Linked DNA regions of Homo sapiens: all the other regions are linked to region 2. Evidence: promoter capture Hi-C in 16 types of primary human blood cells and fetal thymus (Javierre and others, 2016). All regions are on one chromosome and are shown on one strand. The core of a region is centred on a gene start or on the middle of the fragment in contact, and the rest is flanking DNA. Distances in the headings are between cores, read along the strand shown.

Region 1 (4,875 bases), core at 643-3,142, 200 kb after region 2:
GGAGGGAGATGCAGAGCTGTCCGGGGCTGGACAGGGGCAGGTTTGCTCTGGGTGGGGGATGCGGAGGTGACCCCATCTCTGGCCCAGACCCCAGGATCACCAGGCCAGTGGTGAGTGCACTGGTTCGTGGCTTGGGCAGTTGGGGTTGGGGGTCAGGAGGCCCCTCCCAGGCATGAGGCCCGTTGCTTTCCAGGTAGAAGGGGTGGGGTGGGGAAGGCGCTGTGGGGAGAGGGGGCAGCAGGAATGTTCCAGCAGGGAGAACACCCAGACCAGACTGGAGCAATGGCCGGACCCCCATTCTCAGGTTTTGTAAGAACTTGCTCATTTAATCTCCACACTGGCCCTATGGGATGGCACCAGTGATCCCCATTCTGTGGGTGAGGAAACTGAGGCAGAGGGGTCACAGAGCTAAAACTGGTGGAGCCGGGATTTGAACCAGGGACTCAGCTCTGGAGGCTGGGCTTCTAAGCGTCATGCAGTCCTGACTTTGGGGCTTGGGGGGTTTGGGGGTCCAAGGGCGAGGCGGGACAACCACAGGGTGCCAGGGCCAGCTTTACACTGCACCACAGGGCTGGGGAGGTGCAGGTGGCTGGGAGACGGGTGTCTGGGAGGGGAGGGCAGTGACCAAGAGAGAGTGAGGAGCCCAGGATAGCTTGAGCCCCAAGTGAGAGCTGGGGCCTTTGCCCTGGAAGGAGGACTGACAGGGAGGTGTGGGGTGAAGAGGCCAGCAGGGCCCTGTGGCAGGGCCGGGGAGGGAGCTGAGCGCTGCCTGGGGCTCTGTGAGTTCCCAGCCAGCCGATGTTCCCCTGTAGCCCTCCTTGGAGCTGTGGGCTGGCACTTCAGGGGCCAATGTGACCTGTGACCCGGTGCCAGGCTGGAAAGGACCTGCTAAGTGGACGGAGGTGGCTGCAGGCTGCATCATCTGCGGGTCAAGAGGCCTTCAAAGGTGGCCCAAAGCCATCCCTCCCTGGGGGCCAGGCACTCAGACCTTCAGGCTGTGCCCAGCTGCCTTGCCAGAGCCTCAGGCCCCCCAGCATGCCAGCCATCTGCCCCTGTACCCAGCACACCCGGAAAGCTGAGGATGCCACGGGCTCCTGCTAGGATTCCATAGAGCTCACATCTCCTTCCTGGGAGTCCGCAGCCCTTCGGACCCCCAGCCCCAGCAGCCCCCACAGCCCAGGGCTGACTGCCCCAGGACGGGAGAAAACTGCGGGTTCGTGGCCCCAGGCCTGGATGCCGTGGCCTGAACAGAGGAGAGAGCTTGGTGCAAGGGTCAGGAGGCTCGGCTTCCAGCCCTGGCCGGCACTGACCATGGCGTGACCTTGGCCTGGCCTTTGGACTCTCAGGGCCACGTCGCACAGGAGTGAGGAGGCCCTTTGGCCTAGTGGCTTTAGGGACAGCTGTGCCCTTGATAATACAGCAACCCAGCCCCCTGCTGCTCCCTGGCTGTCAGTGGCCCCCCAACCCAGCTGGACCCCACTGTGCCCTCTGCCTCGGAGCACCAGCCAGCAGCCGGTACTTGGGCAACTGCCTCCATTGCAGGGCCAGGTCAGTGGTATGCAGCCCAAGGTGGCTGTCACCTCAGGACTGTGCGAGACCAAGCTCCTCCCACCCGGCCTTGTCACCTCTTCTCCTTGTGCCCAGGGACCTCCCAGCTGCTGTCAAGTGGGTGGCTACCACCATGGCGCTGGCCAGCACAGGCCAGGTACACAGAAAGCATTAACTACAAGATGAGGCCGGGTGCAGTGGCTCACGCCTCTAATCCCAGCACTTTGGGAGGCTGAGGCAGGTGGATCACTTGAGGTCAGGAGTTCAAGACCAGCCTGGCCAACATGGCGAAACCCCATCTCTACCCAAAAGACAAAAAATTGGCTGAGTGTAGTAGCACATGCCTGTAATCCCAGCTACGTGGGAGGCTGAGGTAGGAGAATCGTTTGAACCTGGCAGGCAAAGGTTGCAGTGAGCCAAGATCACCCCACTGCACTCCAACCTGGGCGACAGAGTGAGACTCTGTCTCAAAACAAACAAACAAAGAAAAAAAAAACAACTACAAGATGAGAGTCTGTGTTGGGTCTGCACAGCAGACCAGGGGCCTGAGCCCTCTCTGTGGGGTGGAGAGTGCCGGGTCCCTGCATGCTGCTTCACGGGTGACCTGATGGCTGAGAGCAGCTAGTGCTGAGGCTGTGCAGATCTCAGCGTCCAGTGGGGGGCTGCAGACCCCAGCACCCTGGGTCCGAATCCTGCTGCTCGTCCTGAGGTATGAGAGCCACAAGCACCCGGGCATGGGCACTGATGGCTCTTGGGAAACCCAGGGGCGATGAGGCTGCTCCTGGCACAACCCCTGTCCCAGTCACCCTGGCCACCCACACTCTTAGCTCCTGCCACTGCTGCCCCAGTCTGGGGCCTGTCTCCAGCCCAGCCCCCCGACCCACACTCCTGAAGGCGAGGTGCTTCTGGAAGCCTGCCCCCAACTGCGCCCCCTCTTCCCCTCCTGTGTTTCTCCCTGAGCCCAGGGTCTCATTTGTGCTGCTCGCTGCTGATCCCGGGGCCCTGCACTGAAGGCCCTGAAATAGGCCTGGGGGTCTCAGGAGGTGTCCCATAAATATGGTGGGCGTGTTCCGGACAACCTCGGTGACCTCTGTGGCCAGCTCAGTGTCTTCATTCCGTCCCCTCCCCTCATGTGCACAGGGCCCAAGTCTATCCCCAGCCTCCGCTGCCTCCCTCCCCTCTGCCTGCCTAGAGCACTTTCCCTCCTTCCATGGCCCACACTGAACGCAGGGCTCTCTCTCTGAACCCCAAACCCACCAGTGCCCCCTGCCGGACCCACCCACTTCCCTCCACCTCAGCCTTCACACATGCTGTTCCCCATGCCCGAAACACCCTTCCTGCCCTTGCTACCTGGGACCCAACTTGTAGGGAGGGGCTTCCCTGGGGCTTAGCAGGAGTGACCCCTGCCCTGTAACCTTACGGTGGCGTCAGCCCTGGCACCTGCCCAGCGCTCCCAGGAGAGGGCGCTCTCACTGCTCTTACGGCTGTTTGCCTGGATGTGGGCTAGGAGGGGGGCACCGTCTGAGCCAGGCCCATCCCCGGCGTGAATCCCTGTGCCGGGGCTGACGAGATTGGGCCTGGGAGGGTAGAGGGACTGGTCCTGGGAATGGGGCCAGAGGCCTGGCAGCACCAATCCCAGACCCAGTCTCTGCCAGAGGCAGGGGGCCGCTGAATCCACGCCCCTCATCCATCACTGGAGAGAGTTGAGGGCCGTGGGATGCAGCCCCTGCCTCATGTCCTATCCCCACCAGCTTCCTGTCCACACTGCAGGGCGCCTGCCTGGGGAAGCCCCCACCTACCAACCTGCCCTCTCTGCCCCAACCCTCGTGACCCCAATCCAGAATCCACACCCAGCCAGAAGGAACTTTCAAAAGACTCCTCTGGGCCGGGCGTGGGGCTCATGCCTGTCATCCCAGCACTTTGGGAGGCCCAGGTGAGTGGATCCCTTGAAGCCAGGAGTTCAAGACCAGCCTGTCTAATATGGTGAAACCCCAACTCTACTAAAAATAAAAAAAAATTAGCCAGGTGTGGTGGCGGACGCCTGTAGTTCCGGCTACTCGGGAGGCTGAGGCAGGAGAATCGCTTGAACCTGGGAGGCGGAGGTTGCAGTGAGCCGAGATCGCACCACTGCACTCCAGCCTGGGCGACAGAGTGAGACTCCATCTCAAAAAAGCAACAACCACAACCACCAGCACCAAAACACTCCTCTCATCTTATCACTCACCTGCTAAAACCTTCAATGACTTCCTATGGCCCTCAGGGACCCACGGGTGCCCAAGGCCCTTGGTGGCCTGCCCACCCTCCCCTGACCCCCAAGCCCCGTCCCTGGCAGGGGCTTCCTCACCTGTGGAGGCTGTGCACGCTTCTCCTCACCCCACAGCCCTGCTTCATCTCTGCTCTTTGCCCTTCAGGACTCAGGTTAGTGGTCAGGAAGCCCTCCGTGATTCTCAGGCTGGTGAGGGCACACCTCCCATGGCCCATGCATGCTCCCTGTAGGTGCCTTCACCCACATAGAATGGATTTTGGTGCCAGCCTCCCGATGAGGCCGGACGTTCCTGGTTCATGCCGGGGAGGCAAACCTCACTATGGGGATTGGGGCTGCGTGTGCAGGCAGGGTGCTGACTTAGAGTCCACGGATGTGCTCCTGCTGCTCCTCCCGCCAGCCTTGGTTTCCCCATCTGTGAAATGGGGAGCAGTCCCCCAGCACAGGGGCAGTGGGGTGTGCTGGGGAGAGTGTGGTTGTGGCTCTGTCCAGTGGTTGCCTGCAACACCCACTCTGTCACTCACCACCGCGTGACCTCCAGTTGACTTCCCCTGTCCTCTGTTTCCTGGCTGTGAAATGGGGACGACCGCAGTGGCCGAAACTCGGGACTCCGCGGATGATGTGCAGCAGACACCGTCAGAGTCAGGCTCGTGGGAGCAGCCCAGGGACCAGAGCAGTCAGGGAGCTCCCAGCCTGGCCCAGGCAGGAGGCTGGCACTGGGAGGGTCCCAGGGAGGGAGGGCCCGCCTGAGGACACAGCGGGCATGCTGTTGGCCCTTCCCTGACTGCCCACCCTTAGGAAGGTCGTTGGCCTCCTAAGCAGTCCGCCCCTCTGAGGCCTCGCAGCATGGCCAGGCCTCACTGTGTTCCCAGGCCCTGGGTCATGGCCTCGCAGCCCGGCTGTTCCTGGGAGCTGGCCCTGGCCGAACGCGGCACTCAGCCAAGCCGTATTTCCGCATTTACCACTGGAATCACAGCCCCGTAAAGCAGAGGGGCCACTTCCTCTTCCTCCTCCTCCTCCTGCAGCAAGAGAGGCACCAAGGCCACCCCTCTGCAGCTGCAGGT
Region 2 (4,502 bases), core at 255-2,754:
CCTGTATGAGAAAGCTGGTTCGTTTAGGTAGGCTGAATGTAATGAAAGACAGGGCAAATGACTGCTGAAGAAGGCTTCATATAGTACCCAAAACAACAGAAATTTGATGACAAAGCTTTGTCAAAACTACACCACCACACGCGAAAGACCACCCCTATCCCAGATCAACCAGACTAATGTCTACCTAACAGTCTAAAGCCCCTGGTATAGCATCTTCCATAATCAGGGCTAAACGTGCTCCAGGCTCCTCTCCTTCCATCTCCATCTGGCCAGAACCAGCCCACACTTGCAGGCCTCTGTGATTCTGCTTGCACTGCTGACTGTGCCGGGAGGGCCGCCTCCACCTCCAAGTCTCTGCTTAGTGACATCCTACTCTTCTTTCGACTCAGCTGAGCACCTCCATCTCTAGGATGCTTTCCTCCACTCTCCCTTCCTCACAACTATTTCTGCTTATGGTCCGCCTACCCTTCTCTTTGGCACTTACTGTACCTACCATAATAGCTATGGTTATTAACAATATAAACTAATAGCCACTACTGTTTTCTGCGTACCTCGTATGTGCTGAGCACGTACTCATCAGTATGTACTATGTCATCTAATCCCTCCAGTCACCCCGTGAGGCAGGTGTTAGCCGAATTTTACAGGGGACGGCTTAATTCACTTGCCCAAGGTCAGGAGCCAAAGATGGCGCAAAGCAGAGCTCCACAAACGTGACTCTGTGAATGAGGCCTCCCGCGGGGAGCCACACAGGTGAAGTTAAACAAGTGCTCATTTCAGCGCCGGGCCCGAGGAATGCTAAGCACCCGTGGGGCTCCGTTTAGATGCCGGAAGAAATGCAAATGCTCCTGGAGAAAACTTTGTCCTCCAGCGAGCGGAGAACACAGGAGACGCTGAACAAGCAGACCCGCCGCGCGGCAGTTGTCCAGTCTGCTGAGTGGGGAGGACAAGGACCTCCCACCGGGCGGCCACAGCGTGTGCAGAGGTCAGGCCCCCGGCCCGGCGATCCCAGCTCCCCTCACCAGTGTCCACGGTCTCACAGGTGAATGTGGACGCCGCAGATCCGTGAGAAACCCTTCCCTCCCCACCCCACCCCGGCCCGCCGGCTTCTCACTGTGGGTGGGCGCGCGTGGGTGGAGAGGGGCGCGGAACTGCTCCCAGGTAGTCGGAGCTGCAGTCGCGCACACCTCCGACTACACAGGTGGAGGGCGAGGAGCCTCCGAACCAAAGTCAGAGGACGGGGTATCCTCCTGCCGACCCGCGCGCAACCAGCGGCCCAGGGAGGGAGGAGACGTGCACAACGCCACGACGGACGGGGACAGGTTTCCGGGGACACATTCGCTCGGCGGGGGGCGGGAGCCTCGGACGCCTCACCTCTCCGCCTCAGCAGCAGCGCGGCCACGGCGCTGTCCACGCCGCCGGACAGGGCGCACACGACGTGCCGCAAGGCCTGCATCCGCCAGTCGCCCAACTTCGCCAGCTGCAGCTACCGCCGCTTCCGCGCCTTGCCGGAAGTCCCGCCCCGGCCGTAGGGTCCGCGCTAGTGGCCCGGCCGGAAGCTGCGGCAGCTTACCCGCGTTCCGTCCGGCCTTCCCCTGTCCCGCGGCGGGTTCCCCTGTCTCCGGCCTGCGCTCACCCCTGAGGCTCCACCGACCCGCGGGGCGCCGAGACTCTGTCGGGCCGCGAGGGGCTGGCTTTTTTTTTGAGCCGCCGCCTTGCCCTCCCCACCCGCGCCCCGGCCTCACTGCTCTTCTTCTGCGCTGTAAACCAAAAATAAAATTCTAAGCCCCCCAGCCAGCCATTGGAGGCCTCCTCTCGGCCAAGGGCGTCCTAGAGGGAACCTGAACCGCGAGTTCGGGCTCTGATGGGAAAGGCCGGGTGGGACCCGCCTCACTAGACCCTCCTCCTCCCTTTGGAATTCGGACCAGCATTAACGTCAAAACAGACTTAAGACTGTCTAGGCGGACTCTCCGTAGCAATAGGATACCGACATGACAGATGGCAGGCCCTGAAAGATATCGAAGTATTTTACAGTATTTTAATTTAATTTAATTTTTAATTAATTAAATTTTTTTGAGATGGAGTTTTGCTCTGTCGCAGGCTGGAGTGTAGTGGGCGCGACCTCGGCTCACTGCAACCTTCACCTCCAAGATTCAAGCGATTCTCCTGCCTCAGCCTCCCTAGTAGCTGCGATTACAGGCGCCCGCCACCAAGCCCAGCTAATTTTTGTATTTTTAGTAGAGACGGGGTTTCACCGTATTTGCCAGGCTGGTCTCTCACTCCTGACCTCAAGGGATCCGCCCACCTCAGCCTCCCAAAGTGGCGGGATTACAGGTGTGAGTCACTGCCCCCGGCCCAGAAAATCTTTGAATCCACCTATGACCTGGAAGCCCCACCCCACCTTCGAGTTGTCCCACCTTTCCGGAACCAATGTTACATCTTACATGTATTGATTTATGGCTTATGTCTCCCTAAAACGTACGAAACCAAAAGCTGTAGCACCACCAGTTTGAGCACGTGTTCTCAGGATCTCCTGGGACTATGACATGAATAAATATCTTCAAATCTTTTACAGTTTGACTCCAAGCATACTCAGCACTCAATCCTTAATGTCTGTGAGGTGTGTTGGACAGGGGTTTTGTGTTCTGTCCACTCCTACTCCATGCCCAGAAAAGCCCCTGGCCCAGGGCAGGTGCTTCATAACCTCGCTGAATAAAGGAAGGAGGAGAGAATGGAGGTCATCCCCCAGGGGTGATATTCAAGCTGAGTTCTTCTCTACGAGTTAGCATCTAGACAAGGTCTACCTAAAGCACAGGGAGACTCTGAACGAAAAAGATGTTCATTTGTGAATAGGGCATTGCAATGGGAATATGCATGCCACAATAAGCTATGTGGGTATTCAGGGAAGTAAAGGAAGACAAAGGTTTTTATTTTATTTATTTATTTTTTTGAGACAGTCTCACTTGGTCACTAGGCTGGAGTGCAGTGGCGTGATCTTAGCTCACTGCAACCTCCGCCTCCCGGGTTTAAGCGATTCTCCTGCCTCAGCCTCCGGAGTAGCTGGGATTACAGGCACATGCCACCACACCCAGCTAATTTTTGTATTTTTAGTAGAGACGGCATTTCACCATGTTGGCCAGGATGGTCTTGATCTCCTGACCTTGTGATCCGCCCGCCTCGGCCTCCCAAAGTGCTGGGATTACACGCGTGAGCCACAGTGCCCGGCCTAGGAAGACAAAGGTTTTTAAAGGGAAAATGAGGATCACATCATTGTTTTGAGATAATTCTTTGGCTACAAAGATCAATAACAAGGGTGACAGCACTCCAGGGTTGGACAAGCAGTTGCTGGGCAGATGTCCTTGCAACAGAAGTTTTTTGTTTTTTTTTTTTTTTTGAGGAAGGTTACGATAGCCTTTGTGTAAAGTTGTGGTTTTTGCAGTCTTTTGTGATAGTTGTTATTATTAGGCACATGTGCATGAGAACCCTCCCTTGTGGTATGAACCCAAAGTACCTGAGACAGGTTTCAATTTAGAAAGTTTATTTTGCCAAGGTTAAGGACATGCCAGTGACACAGCCTCAGGATGATGTCCTGAGGATATGTGCCCAAGGTGGTCGAGGCACAGCTTGCTTTGATACATATTAGGGAGACACAGGACATCAATTAATACGTGTAAGATGTACACTGGTTCTGTCTGGAAAGGCGCAACAACTGGGGGTGGTGGGCAGCTCGCAGGTCATAGGTAGATAAGAGATAAACTGTTGCATTCCTTTGGGTCTTTGATCAGCCTTTCACTGAATACACAATCTCCATGTGAGAGGCAGGTAGAGGAACAGTCACTGATGCCTTAGTCTGGCTCAGTGAATCTGCATTTTCACATAAACAATAGGGCAGAGGAAGCAATCAGACATGCATTTGTCTCAGGTGAGCAGAGGACTGATGGTGAGTTGTCCATTGTCTGGCATCTGTGAAGATAAGCTATCAATTTACATTGCCAGGGTGAAATTCAACAGAACTATTTTAGGGTAAAGATCTCGAGGTCCACGAGGAATTTCCAAGAAGAAAAGCAGGAACTACCAACAGGAGAGCCCTGGGGACTGGTGCCAGGAGGAGCTGCAAGACAGGAGGGAGGTCACAGGGCCTGTGGGGAAAAGGATGACCACTTTTTCAGAATAAAGGATCAGGAAAATACCCAACAGGAGGGCAATTTCATCTTGCATTTCCCGGAAGAGATAAGGAAATCCAGTATCTGGGCAGCTGAGTTTGTGCAGATTTAGAGGTACACGTTTAGGCTGTGTCTAAACTTGAGTCTGGGTCTGGGGGCAGGCCCTCCTTGGGTGTGGCAGGCTGATCTAAGGTTATGGCAGGTTAAGTCCCAGTTGCAGCCAACCCGCAAAATGGCTGAGATCCATGCTCACATATTTTCTGCTACTTTTTGGTTAACTATATGGTATTTTAGGTACTCCGTAGCTCCAAGAGGCCCCTGTGTATCACCCAGGTCCACTAC
Region 3 (4,837 bases), core at 769-3,268, 200 kb before region 2:
GCTTGCTGTCGGTCTAAGCGTGAATGGAATGATCTTTTGTCTTTGCTGGACATCCTGTTAGTGAGATTCATCCATCCTCCCCTGTCCCTAGGTGTTGGGCAGTCCCTGTGGTTACCTCGCAGCCTGCAGGTGCCTTATTCCAGAAAAGCAGGCCCACACCTGAACCCACTGGCTGCAGCTGAGTTTTGTTTATTTAAACCCAACCCACTCTGCTTAAAGCCTTATTGCAAAACAGGCACTCCTGGGGTTCTCTGGTTTTTCCTCCTGCCTGGGTCCCCTTCAGGTCCGCCCAGTAGCCTTCCACTGGGAGGCTCCGGGCTCAGGGACCCGCCCTGCCTTCCGGCCCCAGAACTCCTGTCCTTTCATCCTTCCCGGAAAAATCCCAGTGGAAGGGTATATGGCGGGTGGGGAGGTCCTGGACCGCTCACATTAAGGAGACGGACTTTTCTCCTTCCTCCCCTCCCTCCACACACACATTTCCCAACAGGACTCTCCAGTGGAAACCTCGAATTAAAAGGTTCCAAAGCAACTCCACCTTTTAGATCAATATAACGTGTTCAAATCCTTGCTACTGGGAAGAAAATGCTCACATTGGGCTTCAGCACAAAGACACTGTTTCAGCAGCTTTGAGCGAAGTTGGCTGAGTATGCGTGTGACACACACACAGACACATCGCTCCGGGGGAGAAACCCTTCCGGTTCTCCACAGCCGCCCACGGTCCTCGTTGAGACTGGACTCATCTCAGCTCAGCTCAGAGATTTGGCTGCAGGATCCGACCCTCCCTTGCCAAAAAGACCCGTTCTAGGGGTGACTGCGCATTACTCCCACCCCCACCGCTCCGACCGGCCCCAGGAGAAGCCCTTCTAGGAGAGAAGAGGCGACCCCCACCTACCGTCCCCGACCACTGGGAGGCCTAAGGGCTGCACTGGACTCCGGCGCCCCGAGCGCCACCAAGGGAGTGCGCGCCCTTCCCAGCCGCTGGTGGCACAGTCCCAAAGCCCCGCCCATGCGGGGGGTCGCCAAGTCCTAAGCCTCCACCCCCTTTATCCCTGTGCCCCATCCGGAGGCAGGTGTACCCGTCACGCAAACCTAAAGCTGCCCCCGGCCCCCCGTGGTTCCCCGCAGGAGGCGGGGGTGTGTGTCACTTTTCTGAAAGCTCTAAGGTCTCTGCCCCCCGCCCCCCGCTGTCCTCCGTAGGAGGCTGGGCAGGGGCTGTGGCACAGCTCTAAATCCCTGCGGGTGCTTGCTTGCCCCAGGCAGCTTCCAGGACCCGCAGCCCCCCGCCTTCCCCGCAACCCGCTTCGGGAGGAGCCGGACGCTCGGGGATTCCGCGATGCGTCCGCGAACGCTCGGGTCGGGCCGCACGCGGGAGATGAGCGCGCCTCCGCCGTCCTCTCCAAATCCCTTATGTCAACCGGGGTTTTCTTCTTTCATTTAAAAGTTGCGCTTTAAACCAAGTGGGACGCAGATCCGGTAGCTGCCTATTGGGCTTCAAAGTCCAGGGAGTTTTAGTCGGGGTGAAGCATTTTAGCCTCCGTGCGTCTTGCTGTAAAATGGGTAACCCTCCTCGACAGCCTCCGCAGTCCTTAATGGGTGGGGGGGGGCTCCCCGGCCTCTCGGCCCCAGTCCTCCGCCCCCGGGTCCTACCCGCGCGGCACTCCTGGCGGCGGTCTCCGTGGATCTGTTCTGCCGGGGTGGGGAGCCAGGCTCTGAGCCGCGGCCCCGAGCCCGAGGTGCGGAGCCACCGCCCCACGGGTAGCGGCCACCGGGGGCCCCAGCCCCACCTTTCCCGGCCCTGTTGCCTCGGCCCCGCCCCACCGGGAGGCTGGGTGGGGAGGCCTCCGGGGAGTAGGGCCCCAGTCCCCGTCCCGGCCGCGCCCTCGCGTCTCCATAGCGATCCTCTCGGCGCGCACCTCCGAGCCGGCTCCCCCCGGGGCCGAACAATACGCCGCTGGGCCGGGGGCGGGGCGGGGCCGGGCCGGGGGCGGGGAGAGCGCGGGCGGAGTGGGCGCGGGCCAAGCGCACCGCCCAGGCAGCAGCCGGCCGCCGGGGTCTGCGCGGCGCGGAGCTGCCCAGCCCGCTCCGGGAACTCAGCCCCCGCCCCGCGCCGGGCCCGCCCCGCTTCCCACGCCCGTCCGGCCGAGCCCGCGCCGGAGCCACCTGGAGCCGCCTGGAGCCGCCGCCGCCGCCGCAGGTTGATGCGCGGCGCCCTCCCGGGACGCGCGGAGGAGCCATCTTGAAACCAACTTCGCAAACTTTCGCAAAGTGCTCTCGAAGTGGAAGCTGCGGGGGAGGCCGGGCGCGTGGTCCCCACAGTCCCCGCCAGGGCCCCCGGGGAGGCGGGACGCGGACCGCCCCGAGGGCCGGGCGCCCGGGAGCCGCTCCCCGGCCTCGCCGGGTGGATGCGGAGGCGCGCCGGGTGCATGGATTGTGTTCGGGCGCCCGGCTCGGGCTCGGGCTCCGGGCCATGGCGCCGCCGCCGCCGCCCGTGCTGCCCGTGCTGCTGCTCCTGGCCGCCGCCGCCGCCCTGCCGGCGATGGGGCTGCGAGCGGCCGCCTGGGAGCCGCGCGTACCCGGCGGGACCCGCGCCTTCGCCCTCCGGCCCGGCTGTACCTACGCGGTGGGCGCCGCTTGCACGCCCCGGGCGCCGCGGGAGCTGCTGGACGTGGGCCGCGATGGGCGGCTGGCAGGACGTCGGCGCGTCTCGGGCGCGGGGCGCCCGCTGCCGCTGCAAGTCCGCTTGGTGGCCCGCAGTGCCCCGACGGCGCTGAGCCGCCGCCTGCGGGCGCGCACGCACCTTCCCGGCTGCGGAGCCCGTGCCCGGCTCTGCGGAACCGGTGCCCGGCTCTGCGGGGCGCTCTGCTTCCCCGTCCCCGGCGGCTGCGCGGCCGCGCAGCATTCGGCGCTCGCAGCTCCGACCACCTTACCCGCCTGCCGCTGCCCGCCGCGCCCCAGGCCCCGCTGTCCCGGCCGTCCCATCTGCCTGCCGCCGGGCGGCTCGGTCCGCCTGCGTCTGCTGTGCGCCCTGCGGCGCGCGGCTGGCGCCGTCCGGGTGGGACTGGCGCTGGAGGCCGCCACCGCGGGGACGCCCTCCGCGTCGCCATCCCCATCGCCGCCCCTGCCGCCGAACTTGCCCGAAGCCCGGGCGGGGCCGGCGCGACGGGCCCGGCGGGGCACGAGCGGCAGAGGGAGCCTGAAGTTTCCGATGCCCAACTACCAGGTGGCGTTGTTTGAGAACGAACCGGCGGGCACCCTCATCCTCCAGCTGCACGCGCACTACACCATCGAGGGCGAGGAGGAGCGCGTGAGCTATTACATGGAGGGGCTGTTCGACGAGCGCTCCCGGGGCTACTTCCGAATCGACTCTGCCACGGGCGCCGTGAGCACGGACAGCGTACTGGACCGCGAGACCAAGGAGACGCACGTCCTCAGGGTGAAAGCCGTGGACTACAGTACGCCGCCGCGCTCGGCCACCACCTACATCACTGTCTTGGTCAAAGACACCAACGACCACAGCCCGGTCTTCGAGCAGTCGGAGTACCGCGAGCGCGTGCGGGAGAACCTGGAGGTGGGCTACGAGGTGCTGACCATCCGCGCCAGCGACCGCGACTCGCCCATCAACGCCAACTTGCGTTACCGCGTGTTGGGGGGCGCGTGGGACGTCTTCCAGCTCAACGAGAGCTCTGGCGTGGTGAGCACACGGGCGGTGCTGGACCGGGAGGAGGCGGCCGAGTACCAGCTCCTGGTGGAGGCCAACGACCAGGGGCGCAATCCGGGCCCGCTCAGTGCCACGGCCACCGTGTACATCGAGGTGGAGGACGAGAACGACAACTACCCCCAGTTCAGCGAGCAGAACTACGTGGTCCAGGTGCCCGAGGACGTGGGGCTCAACACGGCTGTGCTGCGAGTGCAGGCCACGGACCGGGACCAGGGCCAGAACGCGGCCATTCACTACAGCATCCTCAGCGGGAACGTGGCCGGCCAGTTCTACCTGCACTCGCTGAGCGGGATCCTGGATGTGATCAACCCCTTGGATTTCGAGGATGTCCAGAAATACTCGCTGAGCATTAAGGCCCAGGATGGGGGCCGGCCCCCGCTCATCAATTCTTCAGGGGTGGTGTCTGTGCAGGTGCTGGATGTCAACGACAACGAGCCTATCTTTGTGAGCAGCCCCTTCCAGGCCACGGTGCTGGAGAATGTGCCCCTGGGCTACCCCGTGGTGCACATTCAGGCGGTGGACGCGGACTCTGGAGAGAACGCCCGGCTGCACTATCGCCTGGTGGACACGGCCTCCACCTTTCTGGGGGGCGGCAGCGCTGGGCCTAAGAATCCTGCCCCCACCCCTGACTTCCCCTTCCAGATCCACAACAGCTCCGGTTGGATCACAGTGTGTGCCGAGCTGGACCGCGAGGAGGTGGAGCACTACAGCTTCGGGGTGGAGGCGGTGGACCACGGCTCGCCCCCCATGAGCTCCTCCACCAGCGTGTCCATCACGGTGCTGGACGTGAATGACAACGACCCGGTGTTCACGCAGCCCACCTACGAGCTTCGTCTGAATGAGGATGCGGCCGTGGGGAGCAGCGTGCTGACCCTGCAGGCCCGCGACCGTGACGCCAACAGTGTGATTACCTACCAGCTCACAGGCGGCAACACCCGGAACCGCTTTGCACTCAGCAGCCAGAGAGGGGGCGGCCTCATCACCCTGGCGCTACCTCTGGACTACAAGCAGGAGCAGCAGTACGTGCTGGCGGTGACAGCATCCGACGGCACACGGTCGCACACTGCGCATGTCCTAATCAACGTCACTGATGCCAACACCCACAGGCCTGTCTTTCAG
Region 4 (4,635 bases), core at 374-2,873, 190 kb after region 2:
TTCCCGCCGGGCGCCCGTGCCACGCTGGCGAGCCCCTCCTGCCTCCTCGATGAGCCCGGCTCTGCTACTCTGTGCGATGAGCCGGTCTAGACCCGGGACCCGGGACCGGGTGCCCTTGAGGCTCAGAAGTGCGTAGGGTGGGAGGCGGCCCGGGAGGGACCTTGTCCCTGGAACCCCAGGATGCAAAATAAGGAGAAGGGGAAGGCGAGCTGGGAGGACAAGGAAACAGGTGGCGGGAGGTGCCAGGGCGGTGTGGTGGGCGGGGGAACGAGGAGGGTGAAGGGCAACGCGGACGGGCTCGGGGAGGCGCCGCCAGCTCCGACCCCACAACCCCACCCCTCTCCAGCGGCCCAAGAGCCATGCCCGCCCCTACTTCATGCGCTGGGGGGTGAGGGGCTGACTTTGTGCCTACGCAAGGCGCTGGGACTCTGCCAGAGCAAGGAGAGGTCGCGGCCCGGTGGCCAATGGCGAGGAGTAGGAGAGCGCCCTGCAAAGCCGCTTTGTTCGGGCCGTGACGCTCGAGCTGCCGGAGCGGAATGCACAAAGCCCCTGGGTGCCGGCACATCAGGGCTCCCCTCCTCGGGAACGCAATGTGTGCTATGCCCGCTCCACTGCCTGCCCTCCGCTGCCAGCTGTGCCTGCCACTGTGCTATTTGTGGCAGCGGGCGCCCAGGAGGACCCACTCCGGAAAGCAAACCCAGATCTCATTAGGCAGGGGAACTGGAGATCAGGCGGGAACTGGCCCTTTCACAAACTTCTCTTAAACTCACCCTTGTTGATTAGCCAGGCACCTATGGTGAACTTTGCCCCACCCTCCAGACACCCACATATCCTTCCCACTGGCACACGGCAACCTCACCTTCTCTTGCACATGTTAGCCAGCAATAGCTATCATTTATGTTGTTTCAGAGTTTATAGGGTGACCTGTACACGTAATATCCTGCATATCTCGTGGGGTGTGCAGGCAGCCACATCCAAGCTTGTCATCCTGTTGTGTTTGGTGAGGGAAGCTGACCCTGGGCTGCCCACGCAGAGCTCAGGGGCTACATCCTCATGAGGACCTCCGGGCTCAAAGACATTACCTGGCATACCCATATCCCAGACTCTCAAGGACCAGGGTCCACACAGGTGTGTGACCCAGATGCACCACCCAGGTCAACCAGGTGTTGAAAGACCTAGTGAACATTCTCATGAACAAGGACAAAGGCTATGTGGGGGTGTGCAGAGTGGTCACGTACACTCAGCAGACATAGGAAAGTGATATTCTTGGGTTTTTTGGGGCTCCCAAGGTTTTAGGGAGAGAAAACTTGTTTTTCATCCATGTGTCCCAGAAATAAGCATTTTCAATCAAATGCTGTCAGCCAGTCTCCCGCAGGCGTCCTGAGGGTAGAAGCAAGTTCAGGACTCTTCTCTTGGGAGTATCCTGGCCAGAAACAGCCCCATATCCATGCTTCCCGGGGGTGGTAGGTTTCTTCTGGGAAACCACGCTCAGATGAGAGAGATGAAGCAATTTTCTGTTGGCCACGAAGACCTTGTCACACACCCAGCATGGGAGCAACTGTCACAAAGGGCACACCCTCACCCCCATTCCCAGCTCCAGGAAGTCTCTCTTTACCTTCTTCAGTGCTGATGAAATGAGGGCCACACGACAGAACAGAAACACCGCTGGCGCAGGGACTGAGTAGAAATCTGTAACTTTGAGGACAAATCAGTGCTCCTGAAAATGTCTCTGAGCACCACCTGAGTTTCCTCTCTGGCGCCTTAGTGACTACTGGGAGCATCTGGTGCATATGGATCTTAGTTCATAGCTACCATTTATGTGGTGACAATGCTGTCTCAGGTCCCTTTTTACATTTTCTGATCCGGAAGATGTTCTGAGGGTAATTATTACTGTGCCCACATTGCAAGATGGAGACTGAGGCACAGAGAAGCCCCATCTGCACTGGGTCCCCCAGGCCAGCGGCAGGGCGCAGGACGGAAGGCAGGTCTGTAAAGCCCACGTCTGCCCTGCTGAGCTGCTCTCTCCTGCAAGTGCTGACCTGCCAGCCAGCCAGAGAAGCCGAGGCTCTCCCACAGCCTCAGGGAAAGAATTGGGAAGCTGGGAATTCAGACGGGAAGGGGTTGCTGGAGGAGGCAACCTGGAGTGATAGGGCTTGGCCGCTCAGTACAGGGCAGCAGTTAGACCCTGAGTGCTGGGAGCAGGTGATGACGGTCATCTGTGTTCAGGGACCCCAGTGCTTTCCCTGACCCTGCCAGGGTGAAGCTTCTCCTATGGGCCTGGGGTCCAGGCTGGAGTCTGTTTGCCAGCCAGGGCCTGCGAAGTTTGCTGCTGGCTTGCCCTCTGCTGATGTGCAAAGCTCTCTGTCAAGGGGGAGTGTGTGCTTCCAGGGTGTCATCCGCCAGGGCAGTGGCCTCTGAGCTCCTGGAAGCGTGCCTGCAGGTCAGGTGGTGGAAGTCCACCGGGGCAGGGGCCGTGGGCTGAGAAAGGGAGGGCTCACTGGCAGCGAGCAGGCGGCTGCTTGGCGACCCAAGGCTGGACCTCGTCGGTGAGGGCCAACCATGGGCATGTCCTTAGTTGCCATCCTGGTACTGACAGCAAAACCCCATGGGTCCAAGGTAACAAAGTATTGTCATACTAGGGGACAGAATCTACAAGAGTCCCACAAGGCAGCTGTGCTTATGCTCATCTTACAGATGAGGAACGAAGGGCCAGGAATGGCAGCATGTGGCCAAGGTCCCCGGCAGGGAGTGAGAACTCTCCCGAGTCCCAGTCCATCAGCACCTGGCCCTGGGTACCCCCGGGGTTCGGTTGTCTGTTGCAGAAGCTGTCTGTTGGCTGATACGGCAGCCTCTGGCAGACTCAGGAGCCCAGGGTCAAGGATCAGATTTCCCTGGTGGCTGCTCCTGGCCCCACAGCTCCAGGGGGGTGGCAGCAGCATGTGCAGAAGCCTGTGGCAGGAGACATTCAAGGGGAGAGAGTGTGGAGATGGCACAAAGCGGGCAGAGCTGGGCAAGGCCCTGGCCAGGCAGGTCTTGCAGCCCAGTGAGGAGTTTAACTTTGGTCCTAAGGGCTGTGGGACACCTGCCATGGAGGGTTGTCAGCAGAGGCATGACTCCATCTGATTAGCACCAAGTGCTGCATGCTACATGTTAACCAGTGGTCACAGCTGAGGTGGTGGGGAGGGGCTTAAGCTGTGCACCCATTCTAGCTTTGCAGGATCTGGAAGCTTCCGCAGGTCCAGAAACTGCTGCTGTCATGACACTGTACCCTTTGAAAATTAACCAGTCCCCAGCTTTGCAGCAGGGCCCATTCGACATGGCTCAGATGTCTGTCTCTGTAGATCTTGAGAAGAACAGGGCAGCCCACCTGCAGCTGCACTGCCTCCCTTCTTTGCCCCTCCAAAGGGACAGGTGTCCACCTCGTCACACAGGATCCAGCTCCAGGGCTAGATCATGGATGTTGTTTATCCAGTCCAGGACATGGACTGGAAGCTGCAGGACCCCTCCCTGTGTCATGCTAGGTGCCGTGGGAGTCTCACTGCAAAGTGTGATGTGTAGATAGACGGATTTTCTTTCTTTACTTTTCTTTTCTTTTTTCTTCTCTTCTCTTCCCTTCCCTTCTCTTCTCTTCTCTTCTCTTCTCTTCTCTTCTCTTCTCTTCTCTTCTCTTCTCTTCTCTTCTCTTCTCTTCTCTTTTTGAGATGGAGTCTTGCTCTGCACTTATGTCCTTGCTGGAGTGCAGTGGTGAGATCTCGGCTCATTGCAACCTCCATCTCCCAGGTTCAAGTGATTCTCCTGACTCATCCTCCTGAGTAGCTGGGATTACAGGCACCTACCACCATACTCGGCTAATTTTTTGTATTTTTCATACAGACAGGGTTTCACCATGTTGACCAGGCTGGTTTCGAACTCCTGACCTCAGGTGATCCGCTCGCCTTGACCTCCTAAAGTGCTGGGATTACAGGCGTGAGCCGCTGCGCCCAACCAGATAGACATATTTGGTCCATAAAGGACAATCTGCTCTGTGTGGAGTTGGATTCTGCAATGATCTGACCCAGTGGTTGGCAGTGAGTGGCACTGCTGCGGCCAGGGAAGACTGCAAGTGCAGAGATGAGGTCTGGCATGACAGCCTGGAAACACACAAGACAGGCAAGCTTACGTGCACAGCACCGTGCCACGTGGGCACTGTCCCCCAACTTTCCCTCATGGAATGAGTGGGTGCCTGGGGTTTGGAGTTCAACAGAATTGGATTCAAATCCTCCTGTACCTTTTCCTCAAACTACAACCTCCAGCCGGTGATGCTATCCGAGCCCCCTCATCTCTAAAATGGGGCAGGGACGCCTTCCTGGATGGGTCCTGGTGTGAGTTTGAGGAGGGAGCACGGGGGTGGTGCAGGGTGGGGCCTGATGAGTGGGTCATATTTGGGACATGGTAACCACCAGCTTGAGGGCTCTGTCAAGAGTTGCCTCCTACAGGAAGCCTGCTTGGCAACCGTCCCCCTGCCAAAGCTGCCCTCTGCCTTGTGTGGCCACCACCTCCTGTGTTCCATGCGGCTCTTGTCGCATCCAGCACCATCTTTATGGCGGCCCACTGCCCGGTCCTGTCTCTCCACTCAGGACAGCCGACAGGCAGGCC

The links. Contacts are between HindIII fragments. The CHiCAGO score rates a contact against its expected background, and 5 or more counts as called.
Region 1: a contact is called between a fragment that was not itself captured here and the fragment with the promoter of TRMU in region 2, in 17 of 17 cell types (M1 macrophages, endothelial precursors, erythroblasts and 14 more). The highest score is 14.1, in M1 macrophages.
Region 3: the fragment with the promoter of CELSR1 here is called in contact with the fragment with the promoter of TRMU in region 2 in 1 of 17 cell types (M1 macrophages); the score reaches 5.4 in M1 macrophages.
Region 4: a fragment that was not itself captured here is called in contact with the fragment with the promoter of TRMU in region 2 in 3 of 17 cell types (endothelial precursors, neutrophils and erythroblasts); the score reaches 7.5 in endothelial precursors.

Annotation. Positions count from the first base shown.
Region 1 is chr22:46,129,449-46,134,323 of GRCh38, reverse strand. LOC124905137 (a long non-coding RNA gene) reads right to left here and starts at 4,834. Exons shown (of 2, transcript XR_007068139.1): 1 at 4,336-4,834. The HindIII fragment of the contact is 6,870 bases long and covers 1-4,875 here.
Region 2 is chr22:46,332,716-46,337,217 of GRCh38, reverse strand. It overlaps TRMU (tRNA mitochondrial 2-thiouridylase), which reads right to left and starts at 1,504. Exons shown (of 11, transcript NM_018006.5): 1 at 1,372-1,504. The coding sequence starts at 1,453. RefSeq lists a silencer at 1,057-1,106 and enhancers at 915-1,414, 1,247-1,466. The HindIII fragment of the contact is 6,278 bases long and covers 118-4,502 here.
Region 3 is chr22:46,534,801-46,539,637 of GRCh38, reverse strand. CELSR1 (cadherin EGF LAG seven-pass G-type receptor 1) reads left to right here and starts at 2,018. Exons shown (of 35, transcript NM_001378328.1): 1 at 2,018-4,837. The coding sequence starts at 2,468. The HindIII fragment of the contact is 22,329 bases long and covers 1-4,837 here.
Region 4 is chr22:46,145,477-46,150,111 of GRCh38, reverse strand. No RefSeq gene overlaps it. Among named protein-coding and RNA genes, the nearest start is that of PPARA, 2.7 kb to the left of the region's middle. RefSeq lists a silencer at 1-125. The HindIII fragment of the contact is 1,284 bases long and covers 982-2,265 here.